Linked DNA regions of Homo sapiens: region 1 is linked to region 2. Evidence: promoter capture Hi-C in human tissues and cell types (Jung and others, 2019). All regions are on one chromosome and are shown on one strand. Each heading gives the region's core, a stretch centred on a gene start or on the middle of the fragment in contact. The rest is flanking DNA. Distances are from core to core; before and after follow the strand shown. Region 1 overlaps CCDC158 (coiled-coil domain containing 158). Region 2 holds the start of CCDC158 (coiled-coil domain containing 158).

Evidence for each region. Contacts are between HindIII fragments. The study calls those that stand out against the background at their distance.
Region 1: a contact is called between a fragment that was not itself captured here and the fragment with the promoter of CCDC158 in region 2, in 1 of the 25 tissues and cell types used here (pancreas).

Annotation. Positions count from the first base shown.
Region 1 is chr4:76,363,342-76,371,279 of GRCh38, reverse strand. CCDC158 (coiled-coil domain containing 158) reads left to right here. Exons shown (of 25, transcript NM_001394954.1): 11 at 1,657-1,854; 12 at 3,504-3,986. Among named protein-coding and RNA genes, the nearest start is that of CCDC158, 54 kb to the left of the region's middle. The HindIII fragment of the contact is 4,364 bases long and covers 4,192-7,938 here.
Region 2 is chr4:76,416,050-76,423,672 of GRCh38, reverse strand. It overlaps CCDC158 (coiled-coil domain containing 158), which reads left to right and starts at 2,532. Exons shown (of 25, transcript NM_001394954.1): 1 at 2,532-2,708. The HindIII fragment of the contact is 21,952 bases long and covers 1-7,623 here.

The sequences.
Region 1 (7,938 bases), core at 5,124-7,623, 56 kb after region 2:
ACAATTCAAGTTTTGCATATAAAATATGATATTCTGTATACTTAACTTTTTTCTTAAGCAGAGCTATTACAGTATTAGGTGAAGGAGATCTTGACATAGCCATAGTCTTTCAAGTAGATACCATATTCCATTAAATTGAAGTAGTGTTACACGTTCATTTTAAGGCCAAATAACATTCAAAACACATAAAAATTGTGTATATAGAAATTTGGAATGGACGGTTAGGTGAAGTTGTTTTAAAAGAAAAGGACAGTATGATTGTGCTCATAATGAAGCCACTCTGTCCTCTGTTAGAGGAACTATAGGATGAGAAATTTAGGAAAGGAAATGTTTGGAATCCCCTTTTGCGGTATTAGTGGTATAACAGAATAAATTTCTCGGCTTACCAAACCCCATTCCAGGGAATGGTGCTCTTTGCTGGTAAAGCCATCCTTTGCAGGCTGACAAGGGTTTGATGAGCTGAGGTAAGGATAGAACTGAGAGCTGTGTAGAGAAGCTCTTAATCTTGGCATAATTCTTCAGTTCTTTACCTAACATTTGCATGTTTTTCAGTGTTCTCCTATCTAATTTGAAAATCTTGGAGACTGAATGTCTGAAAGATCCTCAAACCTGGCCTCCCTTTTCATTCTTACCATCACCACCTCTCGTTCAACCCCTCATTACTCATTGCCTGAAGCATGGCAGTCTCCTTACTGATGTTCCCAACTCCAGTTTTTCTCCTCTTCACTCCTTCCTGTAAAGGGCTGCCGCATACATCTCTCTAAAATGTAGCTCCGATGATGTCACTGTTCAACTCAAAATTACTTTCTCCATAAAGTCAGACACCCTCCCTTTCAATACTGTTCATGATCCATCACCCTGCTAACCTTTCCAATCCTTTCTCTCTACCCGGACCCAGTGCACCAAGCAAACACACAGGCCCCTTTCCTGTCCCTTCTTCCTAATCTCTACATCTTCAGGTCTAACTCAAATACTATCCTGAAGCATTTTGATCCCTTTAGTGAGATTCTGTCTGCTATTCCTTATCTTTGTTCCTTTAATGAAAAACCACTTCCAGTTACTTATGTCTATGTCTTAACTTTCTCTTGGATCCTAAGTCATTTGAGTGTAGATATATCTTTGTTTTTACTAGTCTGACTAGAGTTTTTGCTCCTATTCAACACTATGTATTTTTTAAGTGACTGAAAAGGGAGGTAATTCTATTCACAGCCCAGATGCTACTCCAATTCCAGTACCAGCCACTATTCTGCCATCTCTCCATTACTTATCATTTTTCCTTTACTTATCATTTTTCCTTCATGCTTTTGAGCATTTCTTTATTATAGGAGCATACCTGATGTGAGACATAATGTCTTTCTTAGAAAATGCAAGACTTAAAAACAGGATGACTTTTAAAATCTACTGTATTTTCCTTTTCATTGTATATTATTTGAGGTCTAGTCCCTCGAGATAGACTAGTAATGCTAGAAATTTTAAGCAAAATGTTAACTTATTTTTCTTGGAAATAATTGCTCTTAAGCCATTAAAAAGGAATCAGATTCCAAAATCAAAGGTGTCTGAAATCACATAAAAACTCCAAATATGATATAAAGACAATATGTTTTATCTTAATTATTTAATAGCAGGGAGGAAAAAAGCATTCCTCTCTTTTTTTAGGCTGATCTACACAAAAGGGAGAAGGAGCTGAGTCTGGAGAAGGAGCAGAATAAGCGTCTGTGGGACCGAGACACAGGCAACAGCATCACCATTGACCACCTGCGGCGGGAACTGGACAACCGGAACATGGAGGTGCAGCGCCTGGAAGCCCTGCTCAAGGCCTTGAAGAGCGAGTGTCAGGGCCAGATGGAGCGGCAGGTCAGTGCCTGCACAGGCTGTGCCATCGCCAAACAATCTCCTCTGGGGAAATAAATATTTTATGTCTAAATAGAGCTTTTTATTTTTAACATATATGGACCTAAAATGGCTCCTAAAATAAAGCTATGGATTCTGTGAGCAATTTATGAAAACCTGATACTTATTTTTCATTTTATTTCATTTTTTGTTTATTTATTTATTTATTTATTTTTAGATGGCGTCTTCCTCTGTCACCCAGGCTGGAGTGCAGTGGCGCGATCTCGGCTCACTGCAACCTCCACCTCCCGGATTCAAGCAATTCTCCTACCTCAGCCTCCCAAGTAGCTGGGATTACAGGCGTGTGCCACCATGCCCAGCTAATTTTTTGTAGTTTTAGTAGAGATGGGGTTTCACCATGTTAGCCAGGATGGTCTCGATCTCATGACCTCATGATCTGCCCACCTCAGCCTCCCAAGGTGCTGAGATTACAGGCGTGAGCCACTGCGCCCGGCCTATATATAGACACTAATTAAACTAAATGTGTCAAGCTTTATCTCACTTGTACATTGTTGAAGAACTAAACTCTTATCCCATTGCCTTTTCACGTTTACCTAAAAATTGGTAACCTAATAATTGCTTATTTCTGCTGCAGAGAAGCATCAAATTATTGGGCAGCCTGAGAAGCAACAGGGTTGAAGGTTTCTAACAGATTTTTTTGCTTTATTTTTCTCCCAAAAGAGACTTGCCTCTCTTTCCCCAAGTCTCATCACTGATTGAGACTGATGAGTGCATTCCATTCCGGTGCACCCTCCAGTAGCAAAACGTGGACTGCCTTCTTAATAGCAGTGTACTTTCTGTGCTAGGAAGACATGGTTCTAATGCCAGTTACTGCCACAGGGACATAAAAAGCATCCCACAAAAGTGTAAGCTTCTCAGAATGTGAAAGCAAACCAAGGGACTGGTCTTGGCTTAGACCCAGGCAAAGCCATTAACCTACTCTCTGGCTTAACCTGGGCAAGAAGAAAGATGAAAGGACCAACTGGAAGTTAGAATTTTCAGCTTTTCCAAACAAGGATCAGAGAATATGAATGTGTGTGTGGATAAAAGCCATTATTCATTTTTTTCCTCAGAGGTAGAATTAAAGGTAAAGTTGGAGGGAAATTAAAAATAAGGGGTAGTTATTGTAAATTCCGCCACCCTTCCCCCCATTGCCAGGGTTATCTTAATCTAAATCAGTACAGAAAACATCCACAGAGGAAACTTCCCAAGACTGCACTCTAGAACACCGTTGTGGAGGAGCGTTATTATTTAATTAAGCCCTCTCCACCTTGGTCTAATTAGCATATGTCAGTCTTACATATGTTATAAGAGCTAGAGTTCTGACAGCAAAATGATTGAGTTAATTTAACTAGACATGGCTGGGTACAGTGGCTCATCCCTGAAATCCCAGCACTTTGGGAGGCCGAAGCAGGAGATCATTTGAGGCTGGGAATTTGAGAAGACCAACCTAGGGAACACAGTGAGACCCCCATCTCTTAAAAAAAAAAAAAAAGATCTTACTAAACATTGCCTAATTCATGATTTCATGCTTTTAAGTTAACTTGTATCTCTTGAGGTTGCCTATACCTATCCTCCCAAATCTATGAAATTCTCTTTTCTTTAACAATCAGATGGCAGCAATTCAAGGAAAGAATGAAAGTCTAGAAAAAGTATCCTCCTTGACTGCTCAGCTTGAATCCACCAAAGAGATGCTGCGCAAAGTAGTAGAAGAGTTGACAGCCAAGAAAATGACTCTGGAGAGCTCAGAGAGGACAATATCGGACCTGACAACTTCTCTCCAGGAAAAAGAGAGAGCCATCGAGGCTACCAATGCAGAGATCACAAAGCTCCGCTCCCGGGTGGACTTGAAATTGCAGGAGCTGCAACACTTGAAAAATGAAGGGGATCATCTCAGAAATGTGCAGACAGAATGTGAGGCCCTCAAACTGCAGATGACAGAGAAGGACAAGGTGATCGAGATTCTGCGACAGCAGATTGAGAACATGACACAGCTGGTGGGCCAGCATGGACGAACTGCTGGAGCTATGCAAGTAGAAAAAGCTCAACTGGAGAAAGAAATTAATGATAGGCGGATGGAACTAAAGGAACTTAAGGTCTGTAGAGTTTTTTTGTGATTTAACTTCTGAAATATCATTTATTAGCAGGTATGACCTGTACTGAAAAGTGGTTCTTGGTATCTGTGGACACTCTGAAACTGTTGGAAGGTGTTTGTTTCTATGTGTATATGTGTGTTTTTGTGAGAAAGGATAAATACTTTTATCAGATTATAGAAGGAATGGATGACTCGAAAATGGCTCAAAATCACGGGTACAAAAGAAAAAAGATCAGAAAATCTATGAAGTCTTTCCTGATACCACAGGAAAGTATTTTCTCCCTCTTCAGACAGACCTAAATTTGAACCCCGTCTCTCACTACTTAGTTACAGTGAAACATTGGACTGTTTGCTGAATCTTGGCTTCGATATCTGATAAACAAAACCAAACCAAAAAGTAAACAAAACAAAAAACTCCCAACAACCTGTTGGGTTACTGTGAGGCTTAAATCAGAAAGTATATATCAAGGAATGAGCCTATTAATAGTTTCTGGCTATTTAATAATTTAAAATTTAAATAACTTAATAATTTAAAATTTAATAAATATTAGTTTCTTTCCCCTGTTTTGGTCTCCTTCTGAACTTTCTCATACTTTATTTGTACCTGTTAAAACCTGGTTCACATTCTATATTGCCGTGTGTGTGTGTGTGTGTGTTTGTGTGTGTGTTTATGTAGCAGTGTCTCCTTTTCCCTACAAGATTGTAGACTTCTTCAACCAGGGTACACATCTTATTAGCCTTTGTACCTCCTGCCCCATATTTTTGTGCCTTGCACCCAGAAGGTGCTCGATAAATACTTATCAAAATTTAACACAATTTAATGGGTTTTTTAAAAAAATTGATTTCATAGGATTAATGTCACCTTTATCTCTGACTTGGTGAGTAGTAGGAGACAAATCACATATACTGTAGATGCTTCAGTTTCCTCCTTCTAAAAATAGGGCCAGCAATAGATAATTATCCATCTTATGGAAATAAACAAGTTCATTGCATTAAAAATAGAATTTTCTATTGCTTAAGTTTTTACCTGATTATATACATTTTTAAATGGCCAAACTCACCATGAAAAGGGACATAGAAAGGATTCTCAATGGCCAGCCCTACAATGAAACCCTTAGAACAGGTGTGATGCAGGGCAGAGCATATCAGAGGAGAAAGGATGGTTGTTCTACCTTGCTTAGGAAGATCACTAGTGGATTGCTAGTGTGTTAAGGTTCTAAACAGGAGAATCCCACTCTTATACTCTAAAACTTAAATCAATTTAATCCTCACAAAACCTTATGAGGGAGGCACTATTATTATCCCATTTTACAGCTGAGGAAACTGAGACACAGAGAGTTTAACTTTCTGGAGAGCAGCACTACCTTGTGGTTTGAACCTAGGCAGCCTAAGTAGATGTTACTGTGCAGTGGTTCTCAGTGAGAACCGGAATCGCCTGGAGGGCTTTTTAAAGCATGGACTGCTGGCCTGCTCCCAGAGTTTCTGACTCAGTAGGTCTAGGATGGGGTGTGAGATTTGGTGTTTCTGAACAAGTTGCCAGATGACGTGGATACTGCTGGTCCTGAGAGCATCCATCAGGATCTGTGTTAGTGCCTCAAAGGAATGTGGAGCTCCTGACTAGAGGGCCAGTGAAAGCTTCAGAGAGAGCTGGGAACCTGAAATGGGCAAAAACTAGGCAAAGAGAAGGAAGGATGGCATTCCAAGCCCGGGAAGAAGCCTAGTCTGTAATTTAGCCTAGAGATGGTGTGGGAGACATTAAAGGTTTAGGGGTAGGAAGGAGGGGGTAACATGAAGAAGACAGTGTTGGAAGTGGATTAATCTGGCATCAGTATGCAGAAGTGGCTTGGAGAGAGTAAAACTAATTTTCAGTTCCTAAATATGGAGCTGGAGCAGCTTCAGGGAATAATTTCCTAGGTAATTAGAGTTTCACACAGACACAAAGAACATAAGTTTAAAACTCAAGTCCTAATGCCACATCCACTTCCCTCTGTGATCTGATAAGAAAAAAAGGTGGGGGAATCATAGCTGTAGAAGGTATGGTTTCTCTCCTGGTTTCTGTCCCCTCTTCAGAGTGGGTACTGCACACATTGACAGCAGAGAAGCAGAGTGACTTTTATTTCAATAACTGTGGGTCCCCAGAGCTAGACCTTTCTTAAAAACAAATAAATAATAAGACTAAGAAAGGACTGAATTCTATCAGCTGGCCTCAAGAGGTGGAACAGGAGCAGCACTCGTCCTATGTGTGTTGTGATGCCTCAGGTTGTCCCAGGGAAAGCCCTCCCCGTCCCTTACTGCATGAGGTCAGCTGGATTTAGTGTGACAGTTGCCAGGAGTGGCTAGGCAGAGATCAGATAGCCCAGATTAGGGCCTTTACTGCCCAAACCCATCACAGGCGGGCAGTGAGACAAGCCTGGGGCTCCCCACCAATCCTTTTTGAACAGCCAAAAGCTTGTCATGTGGCTATATTTCAGATGTATCATTGGTCTCCACAGTTAAACTGCTGCTATAGCAGTCAAATTGCATCTGCCAGGATACTAAGGCCAGTAGGGCGATAATTTGGGGAAACAATCTGATGACCAAAGAAAGTCAATATTTTTTTCAAATGTCACTTATTCGGAAGGATCTAGGTCAGTTCTGTCCACCAGAAATACAGTGTAAGTGACATATATAATTTTAAGTTTTCTAGTAGACACATAAAAGAAATGTGAAATTAATTTTAATAACATTTTATTTAACTCATATTCAAAATATAGTGTTTTTAATATTATAATCAATACAACAGATCACCAAGATATTTTATATTCTATTTTTATACAAAGTCTTTGAAATCTGGTGTATATTTCACACTTACAGCACATAACTTAGTTTGGCCACATTCCAGGTGCTCCAGAGTCATGTGCAGGTATTGTGTTAGACGACACAGACCTACACCCTGGGAAGAGAGGGGTCCTCCTAGGAAGCCTTACCAACACAGATAGAGACCAGTTAGGAGGCACTGTGGCAATCCATATGCAAAGTGATGGCAGTCCAGACCTGCAGGTTGGGCAGGATTTGATCAACAATTGGGTATGAGGGGCGAGGGACAGGGAAAGACATGGTGACTTTGTGAGTTCAAACTTAGACTGGCAACATGGTAGTGCCTCTAACAGAGAAGAGTCAGAAAGGATTGTAGGGGAAGGCCCTCTGTGAAGAAGGAATAGGAATGTTTGAGTCAGAGTTTGCAGAAGCATGCCATGCTGGGGGTTTCTGACAGTTAGTTGGAAACGCCGAATTAGAGTTGCCATATTCACATTCCCTACCCTAGTCAAAGGACCAGATACTTTCACCACCACAAACCACCCCAGTCTAAGCTCCCACCTCTCTTGTTTGCTCTTCCAGTTGCCTTCTCACTGGTCTCCATGCTTCTCCCCCTACCCCCACGCCAACCACTGTTTTCCTTCATACCAGAGCCAGAGTTGTATTTTTAAATTGTTACACTACATCACTCTCATACTCAAAACTGTCCAATGACTTCCTGACTCACTCACAATGCATGCTCAAGTTCTTACATTGCCTCTGAGCAACCTGATCATTCCCTTGGCCCCTCTCTGACTTCATCTCCTGCTTACCCCAAGCTCACTTCACTCCAGCCCTACTGATGTCCCTGCTCTTCCCCAGACACGTTACCTGTACACAGAGCTCTTCCCAGACTGTCCACGTGTCTTGTCCTTATGCTCAGGAGCACAAGGAGCATCTGCTTAGATGTTACATCATCAGAGAGGCCTTTCCTTGCCAACTGTGGCAGGGTCCCCAAGACCGACCCCAGGTTTGATGATTCCCTAGGAGGACTCGCCAGACTCAGCATATAATCATACACAAGGCTAGGATTTATTACAGTGAAAGGATACAAAGCAAAATCAGCAAAAGGAAAAGGCACACGGGGCAAAATCCAGAGAAAGCCAGGCATGAGCTTC
Region 2 (7,623 bases), core at 1,283-3,782:
CGGGGGGCTGACCCCCCCACCTCCCTCCCGGATGGGGCGGCTGGCCGGGCAGAGGGGCTGACCCCCACCTCCCTCCCGGACGGGGTGGCTGCCGGGCGGAGACGCTCCTCACTTCCCAGACGGGGTGGCTGCCGGGCGGAGGGGCTCCTCACTTCTCAGATGGGGCGGCTGCCAGGCGGAGGGGCTCCTCACTTCTCAGACGGGACAGTTGCCAGGCAGAGGGTCTCCTCACTTCTCAGACGGGGCAGCTGGGCAGAGATGCTCCTCACCTCCCAGACGGGGTCGCGGCCGGGCAGAGGCGCTCCTCACACCGCAGACGGGGCGGCGGGGCAAAGGCGCTCCCCACATCTCAGACGATGAGCGGCCGGGCAGAGACGCTCCTCGCTTCCTAGATGGGATGGCGGCCGGGAAGAGGCACTCCTCACTTTCCAGACTGGGCAGCCAGGCAGAGGGGCTCCTCACATCCCAGAAGATAGGCGGCCAGGCAGAGACGCTCCTCACTTCCCAGACGGGGTGGCGGCCGGGCAGAGGCAGCACTCTCCGCACTTTGGGAGGCCAAGGCAGGCGGCTGGGAGGTGGAGGTTGTAGCGAGCCGAGATCACGCCACTGCACTCCAGCCTGGGCACCATTGAGCACTGAGTGAACCAGACACCGTCTGCAATCCCGGCACCTCCGGAGGCCGAGGCTGGCGGATCACTCGCGGTTAGGAGCTGGAGACCAGCCCGGCCAGCACAGCGAAACCCCGTCTCCACCAGAAAAATACGAAAACCAGTCAGGCGTGGCGGCGCGCGCCTGCAATGGCAGGCACTCCGCAGGCTGAGGCAGGAGAATCAGGCAGGGAGGTTGCAGAGAGCCGACATGGCAGCAGTACAGTCCAGCTTCGGCTGGGCATCAGAGGGAGACCGTGGAAAGAGAGGGAGAGGGAGACCTTGGAGAGGGAAAAGGAGGGGGAGGGGGAGGGGGAGAGGGAGAGGGAGAGGGCCCCAGCTTTATTGTCACAACCTACACATAGCATGTTGTAGGTGCCCTATAAATATGGATGGAATGAATGAATGAATGGAAAAGGACTTTGGATCCCTTTCTTGATCTTTTAATTCTTTATTTAAAAAGCTAAGAAGCTGTTTTTAATACAATATTTAAAAAATGTTGTAAAACCGCAGGACACTTCAAAATGTGATGAATTTTATAGTAAAATCAGGGGCACATAACTTTTCGTACATATATGTGGGTGTAGATAATTTCATGCTACACTAATTAACACACCTTTTAATTAAAGACGTTGAAAAGAAAAAAACCTTTTTGTGTGTGTCCAGGGTACAAGCACAAAATGAGACACCAATGGAAACCATGTATTAGGTATGGAAAATTTTTATGTCATTGAACACTCATGTTTTGATAGAAAAAAGAAAAAATTAGAAATTGCTTTTTGTCCAACCACAAGACCTAAATTATTTACCTTTCTATGTAATACTTATGGTTTCACTTCCTGTTAAAAATGCTCGATTCTATAGCTAATCCTAGATCTCTATAAGCCAATAAATGGATTAACTACAAAGATATGATAAACAATCTTTAATGGCATTTAATCTATTTTTATTAAAATTTGTAGCTACATTATTTAATGTAAGACTTACTAATATTTCTAATCAACTTATACATAAAAAGTTATTTGCTGTAGGTGTCTGCACAATGTGATTGCTAGCAGAATTAAATGCCTCAGGCTGCATCTATCAGACACTGGCCTTTCTGGATGCGTTCCATTTGATCGATAATTTGGGCAGCAAAATCTGATAAATTCTATATTAGAGATAATGACAGAGGGTAACTGTAGCACAGCGGAGGGAACAAGTCTCCAGAGGCAGAAGGGTCAGCTATGCCGAGAACACGTTTGAACTTGAACATTCGGGGACAGAGAAAACAGAGCTGCAAAATGTGAATTCTGTTAACTTGAAATGGTCAAATGGGAATGCCAGGAGTGGGAATGGGAGGGGGGGGTGAGGTGGGGCCGGGTGGGGGTGTCAGAGTAGGAGGCCCGGCGGGCAACTCCAGATTGGGCTTGACTCTTTGGCAGGTAAGAGCTCAGACTGGTGCGGGTCAGTGAGTTATCTGGGAAGACCACGGTGGGGACAGCTACGAGAGTGGCCCGAGGCGCTCGGGTGGGGGCAAGAGTAGGGCCGGAGACCAGTTAGGAGGCTGTGGGAGAAGCGGCAGAGGGCGCCGGGTGCAGGTCCGAACCCAGGGTAGTTTCTGGGGCAGGGCTCCAGGATTTGACTCCGGGCTGGGTACACCCCCACTCCTTAGGGCGCCCGGGCGGTGGTGGGGACTTCGACGCTCGGATGCCCCAGCGACGGCGTCCGGCGGGCGGAGTCGCAGGCGCGGGAGGGGTCCCCGCCGGGCAGCTGCCGAGCACCCCCCTCCTCCCCTCCCCCAACTACGAAGCCTCGCAGAGCGTCCTAACCGTCACCCACGCGGCTCGCGCGGACTGGGCAGCGCCCCGAGCGCCACAGCCGCGAGGAGTGACGGGCGCGGGCAGCTTCCGGCGCCGCAGCCGAGGAGGAGGAGCCGCCCCGCAGCCTCCGCGGGGCCTAGGGGCGAAGAGTGGGGAGCCGCCCCGTCCCAGCCGCCAGGTCGACGTAGGTGGGGCCGCTGCGCCCGCCGGCGCCCCGCGGAGATGTGGCCGGTGTCTTAGGATTAGGTGTTGGTTGCAGGTACAAGCGGGGCGCGGCCCGGGAGACGAGGATGGTGGGGTGGGAGTGGGGTTCTTCTGAGGACCCGGAGCGACTCGTGTTCATTTCTGGAATCTTCCGGTGCCTCGTGTTTGTTCTGCACATGGAAGATGCCCAATAAATTGTTTCTTTACTGGAATGAGCTGCTGTTGTTTTAGGGGATTGCAAGACCCCTGGGGACGGTGGCGCTGAAACCTGGACCTTGAAGAACACAGGGGCCTGCGCAAACTGATTTGATTTGTGGGGAAGAGAATCACCGAGTAACCTGCCCCAACGTGACTGCTGACTCTGTGTCTACCGCGCTGCCGCGAACAGGGGGAGGAGATGGGGAAGACTTGGTGGTAGAGAGGACAGCCTCGCATCCAAGACGGAATGGTGTTAAATGCCGGCGCAAGGGCCCTTTCAGCTTGAGCCCTGTCTTTAAACCACATGTGGGGGTCAGAGCTTTCCCTCATTATCAGCATCAATCAGCAACACAATGAGTTCTGGAAAGTCTCCATCCTTTTCCACAGCACTCTGCTCCAGGCCCCACTCAGGCTGCTCCAGGTTTTGTTTGTGCCTCATGCTGAACTCCAACGTCAGGGGAAAGTAGAAGTGAGGTCGGCTGTTGCCCAGGTTTTTTGACTGGCAACCAGTTCTTGCTGCTTCTCTCAGCAGGAGATTAAGGCGTTGTGGCCGGGTATGGCGGGGGCGTGTGGGGAAAGGACCAGGGCTTCCACATATCCCAGAGACATGCTAGGTAGGACTGTTTCTCTGTGCGGAAGCTCATCAGGTAAGGGTGCAGGAGTGCTGAGAGAGATGTGGTCCTCCTATCTCTGTACTGCGCTCATTGCTTTTAATCTTAGTGCGGTTATCTTACTTGTGTTGTGGGTGAAATGGTTTCCATGCCATAGAGTTAATATTATACTCCCAAAACAAATTGAGGACAGCAATTTATTTGTATGTATGCAAAGCCCTTACTGTTGTTGTGCATTTACAATGAGGACTTAGTTTTATCTAGTATGTTATGAGTGAGCCACTTTAGACCTCCACCATTTATTAAACAGGGCCTCTTGTGATCCACCCGTCCCCCAGCTAGATGGCCCCAAATTATATGGTAGGCTGAGCAGTGGCCACTCAAATATGTCAGGTCCTAATCCCTGAAACCTGTAAATGTTACCTTATAAGGGAAAAGTGCCTTTGCATACGTGATTAAGTAGCTTGAAATGGAGAGATTATCGTGAATTATCTAGGTGGGTCCTAAATGCAAACGCAAAGGTCCTAAGAGAGAGAGAGAAGCAGATTTGATATAGGCCGAAGAGAAGGCAATGTGACCACAGAGGCAGATATTGGAGTGATGTGGCCACAAGTCACCAAATGCCTGGCAACCAGCAGAGCTAGAAGAGGCAAGGAACTGATTCTCTTGCAGAGCCTCCAGAGGGAGGGAGGGAGCCCTGCCAACACCATGCTTTCTTCCCCATGAGACTGATTTTGGATTCCTGGCCTCCAGAATTATGAAAGAATAAGTTGCTATTGTTTTAAGCTACCGAGTTTTGATAATTTGTTATGGAAACTGTAGGGAACTAATACATATGAGCGTGCTCATAAATCACATACATGCTGTACTGATGAATAGTTTACAGGTCTTCAGCTGGGGCAATAGTGGGGTACAGTAGTGGAGATCACTGTATATTTATCTGAATCCTGTAAATCCTAAAGAAAGGATTTGAATAGGGAATTTGGTAAGAAAAGAAATTTAAGTGGTGCATATGAAGGAGGTAGTCTGGCATTTAAAGCAATTTTTTAAGAGTATTCCTATTAATATATCACTATTTGCTCTGGCTAAAAAGAATAAAGGTAAAAAGTGGCAAAGGCTTTGTCCTTACCTTAGCTGAATCATTATTGATTATCCATTGTGTGTATATCAAGTAAGAGTTGCAGACACCTGGGGATTGAGGTCCAGGCCTGGGGAAAAGAGGGAATGCAGAAGTGCTTCCATGTATTAAAATATGGCTAAAAGCAACCGCTAGTCATCTGGAATTAAGATACTTTGGAGTTTTCAGGATACAGGAAAATTCAGTGTTCAAGTTTAATGATTCACTTCTGGGACCCAGGCAGCTAATTTACACTTCCCACTTTCCTTGATATGGTTTGGCTGTATCCCCACCCAAATCTCATCTTGGATTGTAGCTCCCACAATTCCCGTGTGTTGCGGGAGGGACCCAGTGGAAGGTAATTGAATCATGGGGGCAGGTCTTTCCTGTGCTGTTCTCGTGATAGTGAATAAGCCTCACAAGATCTGATGGTTTTATAAAGGGGAGCTCCCCCTGCACAAGCTCTCTCTTGCCTGCCGCCACATAAGACTTCCCTTGCTCTTCCTCCATGATCGTGAGGCCTCCCCAGCCATGTGAAACTGTGAGTCCATTAAACCTCTTTTTTCTTTATAAATTACCCAGTCTTGGGAATGTCTTTATCAGCAGCATGAAAACAGACTAATACACTCCCCACATCTGCTTTCTTTTCAAACTGCTTTATAAGGTATAATTTACATACCATAAAATTCACCTGTTTTAAGTGGACAGTCCAGTGATTTTTAATAAACTTACTGAATTGTACAATCAGCACACAATTCAGTTTTAGAACATTTTCATCATCCAAAAATGATGCCTTGTACCCTTCTGTAGTCAATCCCCATTCCCAACCCCAGCACCATCTGCTTTTAATGACTGGCCTACTTCAGAGTTGGGTTTTAGTCCCTTTGTTGGACTGCTCCAATGGCTTTATAGCTAGCCCCAGCTTCTCCTAGTGTATTCTCTACTCAGCCGCTGGAGGATCATATGCCCTTGATTAAAATCCTCCAGTGCTTTGCGTTGCGTTTAGAATAAGCCCCAAAGTCTTCAGTATGTGGCCTTTTCAAGGCCCCATGAGCTTTACCTCCGCCAACCTCACTGACATCTTCTCAGGATAGTGTAGGAAAGGAAGTGATAAGCACAGTGTTCCTTTTGGCATGACACATAGTTGGCCTCCATTAGAAGCCCTCTCATCCCCACTTAGCTACCCTGCAGCCTCATTAGCCTTCTTCACTGGGAGTCAGTGAACACTGAGCTCTTCTCATTTTTGGGCCTTTGTGATGGCATTTCTTTTAAGAAGTTATCCCTGGCCACTGTGAGGCTGACCCCTTTCTGTCATTCAGTTCAATGCCACCTCCTTAGGAAGGCCTTCCCTCACCTACCCTAACTAGAGGAGCTGTGTTAGTCTGTTTTCATGCTGCTAAGACATACCCGAGAGTGGGAAGAAAAAGAGGTTTAATTGGACTTACAGTTCCACATGGCTGGGAAGGCCTCAGAATCATGGTGGGAGGCAAAAGGCACTTCTTACATGGCGGCAGCAAGAGAAAATTACCTCCCCCTGGGTCGCTCCCATGACACATGGGAATTCTGGGATATACAGTTCAAGTTGAGATTTGGGTGGGGACACAGGCAAACCATATCATTCCACCTGTGGCCCCTCCAAATCTCATGTCCTTACATTTCAAAACCAATCATGCCTTACCAGTAGTCCCCCAAAGTCTTAACTCATTTCAGCATTAATGCAAAAGTCTTCAGTCCAAAGTCTCATCTGAGACGAGCCAAGTCCCTTCTGGCTATGAGCCTGTAAAATCAAAAACAAGCTAGTTACTTCCTAGATACAATGAGGGTACAGGTATTGGGTACATATAGCCATTCTAAATAGGAGAAATTGGCCAAAACAAAGGAGTTACAGGGCCCATGCAAATCCAAAATCCAGCAGGGCAGTCAAATTTTAAAGCTACAAAATGATCTCCTTTGACTCCATGTCTCACATCAAGGTCACGCTGATGCGAGAGATGGGTTCCCATGGTCTTGGGCAGCTCCAACCCCTGTGGCTTTGCAGGGTACAGCCTCTCTCCCAGATGCTTTCATGGGCTGGTGTTGAGTGTCTGCAGCTTTTCAGGTGCACAGTGCAAGGTGTTGGTGGATCTACCATTCTGGGGTCTGGAGGATGGTGGCCCTCTTCTTAACAACTCCATTAGGCAGTGCCCAGTAGGGACTCTGTGTGGGGGTTCCAACCCCACATTTCCCTTCAGCACTGAGCTAGCAGAGGTTCTCCATAACGGTCCCATCCCTACAGCAAACTTTTGCCTGGGCATCCAGGCGTTTCCATACATCTGACATCTAGGCAGAGGTTCCCAAACCTCAATTCTTGAGGCCTGTGCACCTTCAGGCTTAACACCACATGGAAGCTGCCAAGGCTTGGAGTTTCCAGTCTCTGAAGCCACAGCCTGAGCTGCACATTGGCCCCTTTCAGCCATGACTGGAGCAGCTGGGACACAGGGCACGAAGTCCCTAGGCTGCACACAGCACAGGGACCCTGGGCTCAGCCCACAAAACCACTTTTTTCTCCTGGGCCTCTGGGCCTGTGTTGGGGTGGGCTGCCATGAAGGTCTCTGACATGGCCTGGAGACATTTTCCCATGGTCTTGGGGATTAACATTAGACTCTGTAGAGTCCAGCCCCACAGGGTCAGTGGGTTTTCTCCCCGTGTGCGGAGATGAGAGAGTGTAGAAATAAAGAGACAAGACAAAGAGATAAAAGACAGCTGGGCCTGGGGGACCACTACAACCAAGACGCGGAGACCGGTAGTGGCCCCAAATGCCAGGCTGTGCTGATATTTATTGGATACAAGAAAAGGGGCAGGGTAAGGAGTGTGAGCCATCTCCAATGATAGGTAAGGTCACATGGGTCCCATGTCCACTGGACAGGGGGCCGTTCCCTGCCTGGCAGCTGAGGCAGAGAGAGAGAGGAGAGAGAGAGAGACAGCTTACACCATTATTTCTGCTTATCAGAGACTTCTAGTACTTTCACTAATTTGCTACTGCTATCTAAAAGGCAGAGCCAGGT